Linked DNA regions of Homo sapiens: regions 1 and 2 are each linked to region 3. Evidence: promoter capture Hi-C in 16 types of primary human blood cells and fetal thymus (Javierre and others, 2016). All regions are on one chromosome and are shown on one strand. The core of a region is centred on a gene start or on the middle of the fragment in contact, and the rest is flanking DNA. Distances in the headings are between cores, read along the strand shown.

Evidence for each region. Contacts are between HindIII fragments. The CHiCAGO score rates a contact against its expected background, and 5 or more counts as called.
Region 1: a fragment that was not itself captured here is called in contact with the fragment with the promoter of MYG1 in region 3 in 2 of 17 cell types (erythroblasts and naive CD8 T cells); the score reaches 10.7 in erythroblasts.
Region 2: a contact is called between a fragment that was not itself captured here and the fragment with the promoter of MYG1 in region 3, in 1 of 17 cell types (erythroblasts). The highest score is 5.2, in erythroblasts.

The regions. Positions count from the first base shown.
Region 1 is chr12:53,022,261-53,025,074 of GRCh38, reverse strand. It overlaps EIF4B (eukaryotic translation initiation factor 4B), which reads right to left. Exons shown (of 15, transcript NM_001417.7): 6 at 2,448-2,582. Among named protein-coding and RNA genes, the nearest start is that of EIF4B, 17 kb to the right of the region's middle. The HindIII fragment of the contact is 3,982 bases long and covers 1-2,814 here.
Region 2 is chr12:53,566,356-53,569,384 of GRCh38, reverse strand. The region is part of intron 2 of ATF7-NPFF (ATF7-NPFF readthrough); the gene reads left to right. All of the region lies in intron 2 of ATF7 (activating transcription factor 7), which reads left to right. The region is part of intron 2 of LOC124902937 (a long non-coding RNA gene); the gene reads right to left. Among named protein-coding and RNA genes, the nearest start is that of ATF7-AS1, 54 kb to the right of the region's middle. RefSeq lists an enhancer at 1-329. The HindIII fragment of the contact is 1,164 bases long and covers 920-2,083 here.
Region 3 is chr12:53,298,288-53,301,487 of GRCh38, reverse strand. It overlaps MYG1 (MYG1 exonuclease), which reads right to left and starts at 1,793. Exons shown (of 7, transcript NM_021640.4): 1 at 1,535-1,793; 2 at 1,226-1,338. The coding sequence starts at 1,750. It overlaps PFDN5 (prefoldin subunit 5), which reads right to left. Exons shown (of 6, transcript NM_002624.4): 6 at 2,038-2,219. The coding sequence ends at 2,143. RefSeq lists enhancers at 1,569-1,748, 1,819-1,878, 1,689-1,983, 1,889-1,988, 2,029-2,118 and 1 more. The HindIII fragment of the contact is 10,124 bases long and covers 1-2,985 here.

The sequences.
Region 1 (2,814 bases), core at 263-2,762, 280 kb after region 3:
TTCTACATCTTAAAAGGTTAAGGACTCTCCTCTAAAAGGAATTATACATATCCCTTACTGCTTCCCCAATTATATTTAGTACAAAGCTCAAAAGGTACCTCACAAAATTAAAATGCTTGTGCTGGGAGCGCTGGCTCACACCTGTAATCCCAGCATTTTGGGAGGTCAAGGCAGGCAGATCATCTGAGGTAAGGAGTTAGAGACCAGCTGGCCAACGTGGTGAAACCCCATCTCTACTAAAAAATACAAAAATTAGCCAGGTGTGGTGGTGCGCATCTGTAATCCCAGCTACTCAGGAGGCTGAGGCATGAGGAACACCCTGAACCTGGCAGGCAGAGGTTGCAGTGAGCCAAGATTGCCACTGCACTCCAGTCTGGGCAACACAGAGAGACTGTGTCAAAACAAAACAAAACAAAACAAAACAAAGAGCTTGTAAATTTAAGTTGGTCTGTTTTTACTTAAACTATTTCAAACATACAGAAAAGTAAAGACACCATTATAACAAACTTATGAACCTATTACTTAGGTTTAGTGAATGTCATATTTTGCCATGTTTGTTTTTTGTTTAAAAGAAATATGTTACAGACTAAAAACAGAATTTTCCCTATCCCCACCAACAATTAAAAGGGTGGTTAAATTACCATGCGTAGCTTTATAATTTTACAACTTATGCATTAATACTACATGGTATTGTTTTCAAATTTATACACAATTTTTTTCCCCTTAATGTAACAGGTTTTGAATTTTATCCCTGTTGTTATGCTATTAAGTATTTGATTACAGACAAACCACTATTTATTTATTTTTACTAGGTAGTAGCTTCTTTCCATTTTAAAAATAGTGTGGTCTACTTTTGTGTATTTTAATAAAGTTGCATAATTTTCCCCATAAAGGTCTTTGTTAAAGTGATGTATGTAATTAATCTCTACTCCTACCCCATGATATTTCCCACTCACCTATCTTTCCGCACCCCAACTGTTTAATTATTCACACACTGTCTCTTCCCTCCACTATAATAATGTATGCCCAATAAAGACAGGATTTTCTTGTTTTTGTTCACTGCTGTATCTTGAGCATTTAAGTGAATCAATTTTTATTAGAAAAAAATTACACTGCTGTATCTTTGTTCACTGCTATATCTTGAGTATTTTTAAAGTGAATCAATATTTTTATTTTAGAAAGTTACATTTTAGGCCAGGTGCAGTGGCTCATGCCTGTAATCCCAGCACTTTGGGAGGCTGAAGCAGGAGGATCACCTGAGGTCAGGAGTTCGAGACCAGCCTGACCAACATGGAGAAACCCCATCTCTACTAAGAATACAAAATTAGCCAGGCATGGTGGCACATGCCTGTAATCCCAGCTACTCGGGAGGCTGAGGCAGGAGAATCGCTTGAACCTAGGAGGCGGAGGTTGAGGTGACCTGAGATCATGCCATTGCACTCCGGCCTGGGCAACAAGAGCGAAACTCTGTCTCAAAAAAAAAAAAAAAAAAAAAATTTTACATTTTAATTGTTTGCTACAAGCATATAGTAATGCAACTGATGGGCCAGGCGCAGTGGCTCACGCCTGTAATCCCAGCACTTTGGGAGGCCAAGGCGGGCGGATCATGAGGTCAAGAGATCAAGACTATCCTGGCCAACATGGTGAAACCCCATCTCTACTAAAAATACAAAAATTAGCTGGGTGTGGTGGCGCGCGCCTGTAGTCCCAGCTACTTGGGAGGCTGAGGCAGGAGAATCACTTGAATCCAGGAGGTGGAGGTTGCAGTGAGCCAAGGTCACGCCACTGCACTCCAGCCTGGGCGACACAGCGAGACTCCGTCTCAAAAATATATATATATATCAAAAAGTAATGCAACTGATCTTTGTATGCTGCTCTTCACTCAGCAATCATGCTGAACTCTTATTTCAAATAGCTCACTTTGTAGAATCTGTTGGATTTTTTTTTTTGAGACAGGGTCTCGCTCTGTCACCCAGTCTAGACCTCCTGGGCTCAAGGAGTCCTCTTGCCTCAGCTTGCTGAACAGCTAGGACTGCAGGTGCGTACCACCACGTCAGCTTTTTCTTTTTCTTTTTGGTAGACAGGGTCTTGTTTTGTCGCCCAGGCTGCTCTCAAACTCCTGGCCTTAAGCAATCCACCTGCCTTGACCTCCCAAAGCGTTGGGATTATAGCCACCATGCCCAGTTTGGGTTTCTTTATAAACAATTGTCTCCAAAAAAAGAGAAATGTCTGTCCCTTTGTTTGGTTAAGTTTTCAAAAAAAATTATTAATTTATCAAATTCGTTTCCTGCATCTATCAGTTCTTTCAGATACTATCCAAAATTTTTCTTAATCTGCTTTCCTCCTTCTATCTGTTAATGTGATCTGATCATCTGTAACACATTTGTCCTATTACTAAATAGCCTCCCAAAGCACAGAGGAAGCTAACTTCATAAAAACAAACTTACTGTCTCCAAAGCTATCATCACCTCTTCTAGGTGGGTAGTCATCAAAGCTGTCTGTAGCAGGACGAGCCCTCCAGTCTGTATCTGTTTTGTCAGAATCCCGATTTCTATCACGGCCAAAAGAACGATCATCCCTGTCTACAGATACATTAAAACAAAAACCGTAAGTTATCTCATAAAAACTTTGCCCAATATTTCTCACACATAGAAAACCCCCATTTTACCCTATTTTTCACTTTCACGTCACACTGTCATCCCAGTTACCTCAGGCCCCATAAGTACATGCTCCAATTCAACCCCAGGTGGCTCTTTTCCTCCCGTTTTTTCCTATTGGTTTAATGCTTAGCTATCTCAAATTCTGTATGGGCCA
Region 2 (3,029 bases), core at 252-2,751, 270 kb before region 3:
TGCAAGAGAATGAAACAGCATGATGTGTTTAGAAAAAATGCAAGTAGTTTAGTACTGTGATGGAGAGCAGCAGGAGATGAGACAGGAACAAGACAATTTCCCCAGCTGCTGCTGTTCTTCTGTGTTGGATCACTATGACTGTCTAGAAGTATGTGGATAAGTGTTACTGATAGGCAGTGTAGATTCCTTTTTTATTTTTTATTTTTTTTAAGAGACATGGAGCCCTCCTCTGTCGCCCAGGCCGGAGTGCAGTGGCACAATCATAGCTTACTGCAGCTTCAAACACCTGGGCTCAAGGGAACCTCCTTTCTCTCTCTCTCTTTCTCAGCCTCCCAAGTAGCTGGGACTACAGGCATGTGCCACCATGCCTGGCTACTCTTTAAATTTTTTAAGAGACAGGATTTCAATATATATTGCCCAGGCTTGTCTCAAATTCCTCAGGTGATCCTCCTGCCTCAGCCTCCCAAGTAGCTGGGATTACCAGCATGAGCCACAGTGCTTAGCTGCAATTTCATTCTTTGCCCCTACCTGCCTGCCTGCCTTCTTTGAGTGTAGACCTCTAGTCTGTGGCCAGCATTCTAAAAAATATCACTTATGGTTAGAAAGTAAACATCCAAAATTGAAGTTTTCCATTTGCCTGACTTTGTAAAACTAAAGATAGCTTATCAGAGCTTTCCTGGTTAGACACAAAGATAATCAGATGAATATGTCAACAAATTATGGTAAGAATTTTTTGCTGCATTAAATTAAGATAGCAGGGCAGAATTAGAGCACTTGACCAGTTTATGGTTTATATAGAAGACCTGCCAAACTATTTGAGCCTTTATCGTTGCCTATTTCTTTACCAGGCTGCAACCTCTTCTGTGGTTTCCGAGTCCCTGGGCCTGTAAGCTTTGATAGCTTGTTTAAAACAAAAGCTTAATACTGTATTTTGGTATTATTTTAAAGTGAGGGAAGGAGAGAGAGAGAAAGAGAGAGAGAGAGTGTGTGTGCGTAATCTCCTTGTAAACTTGAACCAAGTTTAGAGACGGTTTTAGAGACGAGTGCATGTGAGCACGCTCATTGGTTCTCTCCCCCTCCTCACCTTCCAGTTATATATTTTCTTTTGGCTTGACTGTTACAGTACTAAACTGCATAAGGCCTTAAAGATCAGGGCAGGGTTTTTGTTATTGTGGTCTCAGTACTGACTTGTATGTGCTCTACTCTGAATGCATTGTAAGCATTCAAAATTTTAAAACTCCTGTATTATCAGGAAGTATTTACAGTATAGTTTTTCCACAGTGAAATTTTCAGCAGCTCAAGCCAAACCACAATGTAGTAGGTTCATACTTTTCACTCTGTAACTTTGTCCTTCCCACCCATTTGTGAGATCCAGAAATTGTAACACTTAATGTGTAGCAAATTAGAAGATAAAAGTATTTGATACGTTTTTCAAGGATTTTGTACCTCATAACATCCTAATAAGAATTTGGGGAGAGAGATGAGATTGAAAAATAGAAATGTATAATGTCAACAAGAACTTAATAGGGCTGTGTGATAATTATTTTGATTTTAAAATAACCTTTTCTTGCTTTGTTAAGAACTACAGTTATCCCTTTGGGGACTTTAATGGTACCCCAGCTAAGTGGCTACATCTGGATAGGAGAATACTAAAAGGTCTACCATTAGGCAAGAGCTGTGGAGAAAGCAATTAGCCATGTAACTGACATAGGACCAGGCCTGGCTGAATTGCTGCTGGGATTTCTCTGCCTCCTAGGCACTGGTCCTTTAAAGTTTGTTGAGCATTTAACCCATCCAAGTAAGTAGCTGCCATCTAAGGAAAGATAATGGATCTATCCTTGTTAATTCTTAAGCGTAGTTCCCAAGAGTGCCCTGGAGTTTGATAAAAAGCCAAACACTGGGTATTGAGGAAGAGGGGCAGCGAGAAATAAGAAAACATGCTGCTCCAGTCTAAAACTCCATTCTTTAGTGAGGAGTGATCTTTAACTGCCCCAGTTTCCAAAGCAGCATTGTAAGGTGCCACTCTCTTACCATCTTGTTCTTCCTAAAAGCCCAGTGTATAGCCATTGTTTCTAAGGAAGCTTGAGGCAATAGGTGGTGATGAGATGGAATTTATTTGGTATATTATGTGAAAAAGAAAACAGAATTCAGCATTAGGATACAACTGATAAATATTCATGAAGATGTAGAATAAAATAATTTCTTGTATATTCCATTTCTAAGTTCCTTAGATAGAAAATGAAGTAGAATCTATACATATTGAAAATCGTATATTGGTTAGGAATGGTTTCAGATGCAAATACCTAACAGTAGCTTAAAACTGTGTGAACACAGGCTGGGCGCAATGGCTCACGCCTGTAATCCCAGCACTTAGGGAGGCAGAGGCGGGCGGATCACAAGGTCAGGAGTTCGAGACTAGCCTGACCAAGATGGTGAAACCCCATCTGTACTAAAAATACAAAAATTAGCTGGGCATGGTGGCGTGTGTCTGTAATCCCAGCTACTCAGGAGGCTGAGGCAGGAGAATTGCTTGAACCCGGGAGGCAGAGGTTGCAGTGAGCCAAGATCATGCCATTGCACTGCAGCCTGGGCAAGAGAGCAAGACTGCATCTCAAAACAAAGCAAAAACAAAAACAAAAAAAAACTGTGTCAACATTTATAACACAAGGTGTCCAGAATTAGGACTGTTTCAGCAGCTAAGCAAGTTTATCAAGGACCTAGGTTCTTTCTCTCTGCTGTACCATTTTTAGCTTTTACCTTTTAATCCTCATTCCTGTTGCCTCACTATCAGAGGATGGGAAAGAAATAAGGGGCAGGTAGCATCAGGAACTCTCTTGTTCTGGCTTTCCCTTTTATAAGGAGACAAAAGCCTTACATCAGAAGTGCCATCCTCCACCCCCACCACGGTGGATTTCATTGTCTTATTGGCCTGAACTGTGTGACAGGTTTAATACCAGCTGCATAGGAAAAAGGAATATCTTGCTTTTCAGCCTTTATAGTGAGGCAAGCAAGAGAAAATGGTTGAAAAA
Region 3 (3,200 bases), core at 544-3,043:
GGTGAGAGCTTAGGCTGTAAATATTGGGAGGGTTTCTTCCTGACATCATTTATAATATGTATGCTAAAAAAAGAAAAAAGGAGAGAGACTTAAAACATCATAATCCCTCTCTCCAAGATAATTACTTCTCGTGGTGTGGTATAATTGAGGGAGGGTTTTGTTTTTACACCTGTGTTTCTTTTCAAGATGGAAGATACTTGAGAAGGGTTTTAGGCTGTAGGGAAGGAGAGGCAGAGACACTAGTGGAACTGTGACATGAAATCCCAGAGGATAGGCCAACAGTGGCTCACACCTGTAATCCCAGCACTTTGGGAGGCCAAGGCGGGGCAGATCACAAGGCCAGGAGTTCGAGACCACTCTGGCCAATATGGTGAAACCCGTCTCTACTAAAAATACAAAAATTAGCCGGGTGTGGTGGTGGGTGCCTGTAGTCCCAGCTACTCGGGAGGCTGAGACAGGAGAATCGCTTGAACCTGGGAGACAGAGGTTGCAGTGAGCCGAGATCGTGCCACTACACTCCAGCTTGGGCGACAGTGGGAGACTCCGTCTCAAAAAAAAAAAAAAAGAAAAGAAAAAAGAATCCCAGAGAAGAAAGTAATAGACTGGAAACAGGACAGAGGATTAACCTCCAATAGAAGGGAAGAAATTTCCCTTAGTTGGTAGGAGGGAGCTGAGGATGTTTGAGGTGGGAGACTGAGGAAATGCTCAACTTCTTTTGAAAAGAGGCAGGGACACTCAGTTTGATGCGGTAGAGGCTTGAGGGAGAAGAAAAGGATTGGAATGGGCTACCCTTGAGCAAGAAGGATTTCCCTTTGGAAGGGTGTAAATGAAGTAGAAAACTTCACACATCTGAACTGTCACCAACTGCCACAATCATGTGGGCCCAGCAGTTAGGTGCAGCAGCAAGGGCACCAGAATGGATTAATCACAGATGGGTTTATTTAGTTGGGGTGATGAAGTTGCTGATGGAAAAAAAGCCTTGGCTAAGGAAGGAGATGAGATAAGGGGCCTGAGGGACTCCCTGGGAACCAAAGGAGGTCCCAGGCCAGGGAGATGGGTGAAGAACAGGCAGGGCCGGAAGGATGATGTAGTCCTAGTGGGAGTTTGATTTCAGTGATGAAGCAGTTCTTTTCGCTGACGCGGACTACGGCAGTGGATGGCTGAATTGGAGCACAGAGGAAAGCTGAGGTCAAGGAAGTTAAATAAATGGTATCTGAGAACCTACCTCTGGTGATGGTCATATCGGTGTCTCCGAGGGTCGTACTCGCCCCCCACGTCCACCACGATGTCACAGGAAGCGAGTTTTTCGGGATCCCGGGTCCGCACAATCTCTGCATCCTGCGAGGTACACAGGGGTGAAGGGGCTGCCGGGTGTCGCCGGGTAGGGGATTAATGCTGGACTTCAGGGAGGCAGGAAGGGTAGGAAGGGTGCTTGGGCTGCCGGGCGCTATCGGAGTGACCCTGTTGGCGGAATGCCATCCACCCCGGAGGCATGCATGCACGCAGTCCCAGGGTCACTTTTCGCGGACCGTACCCGGTACTCCGGCAGGAGGCGAAGCAGTGCGCATGCCAGTGCCTCGTCGCAGTGGAAGGTGCCATTGTGCGTCCCGATTCGGGGCGGTGCCATGAGTTTGCTGCGGGATCGTTTTGGGGGCGGGACGGACTCTGGACCGAGCATGCGGTGCCGGGTATACAGGGGTGGCGGCGGCAGCAGCAGCGTTAAGAGGCCGCGCAGGAATTGGTGTCCCATAAGCAGCTCCCTGCAGGGAGGCAGGAGCGCCGACCCGGAAGAGGAAGCGCCAGCGCAGCCCCACTTCCGCTTGCCAACCGTTCCCTTGGCAACCAGCTCTGCAGAGTGAGCAGCAGCAGACTCCCAGCCTAGGATTTCTTCCAGCTGGTCAAAGGGCCCTGCGATGGAGCCTCCAAGAGGCGCATCGCATCACCCCTGCGCATCAGGCTCTGAGACGGGGCCCACACTCTCGACCACACCCCCCATCTCATCACCAGTCCCTTGCTTAATCCAAGAAAAGACCAACATTCTGCCCAGCTGGCACATTTATTGGCATTAAAACACAAGACCCTTCCCATCACCAGGAAGCCACGCCCAAAGGGTGTCCCTCTGCCCCATTTCTGCAAAAACTCTCAGGCCTTAGCAGTAGCCTGAGCTGCCCCCAGGGCTGTGAGCTGCTGAATCTTCTGACTCATCATTTCCATGACGGCTGTGGAAAAAAATAAGAGTCAAAGGTTAGAAGCAAAAAGGAGAACCTAGAGTTAAGGAGAAGTGACAGGCAAGTTTAAGGACAGGCGACCGACTAACTACAGTTTGTTAATAACCTTTTTTTTTTTTTTTTGAGACAGAATCCTGCTCTTGTCACCGAGGCTGGAGTGCAGTGGCACGATCTTGGCTCACAGCAACCTCCGTCTCCCGGGTTCAAGCGATTCTCCTGCCTCATCCTCCCGAACAGCTGGGATTACAGGCATGCACCACCATGCCCGGGCTAACTTTGTATTTTTAGTAGAGATGGGGTTTCACCATGGTGGCCAGGCTGGTCTTGAACTCCTAACCTCAGGTGATCCACCTGCCTTGGCCTCCCAAAGTGCTGGGATTACAGGCGTCAGCCACTGCGCCTGGCATTGTTAATAAAACTTTAACTCAGTGATCCACTGTGGGGTCACTAACACAAATTTAGGGTCTACAATGCATCGGTCAATATGCTAACACAGCTGGGTGTGGTGAGAATGAGACTCTTCTCGGAAAAAAAAAAAACCTGCTAACCAAAGATATAAAAACGAACACAATATGGTATTAAATGAGTCTGACATAATCAGAAAACTATGATGGGGAAAGATTTTTACCTTTGGAACACTGGTTCTGAATCCTGATTATAACAGAGGGGAGCTTTTTTAAAAAAAAACAGACCTTGGTACAACTTCCCCTCCTTTGACTTCCAAGTTGATTTAGTCAATCTGGAATGGGCCCAAGCTTTCTTTTTAAACTTCCTGAGTGATTCTCATGTGCAGTCGGGGTTATAATTGCTGGTATTTAGTTCGTTTGGATCATGATTCCTTCCTGTGTGTTCATCTCATTCCCCCATTCCATCGTCATTAAATAGGAGCTCCACCAAAGCACAAACATGATTTCCTTCCTCTAAATTTCTCAAACGCTCAACCCAGGAATCTACAGATAGTGATTATGCAAT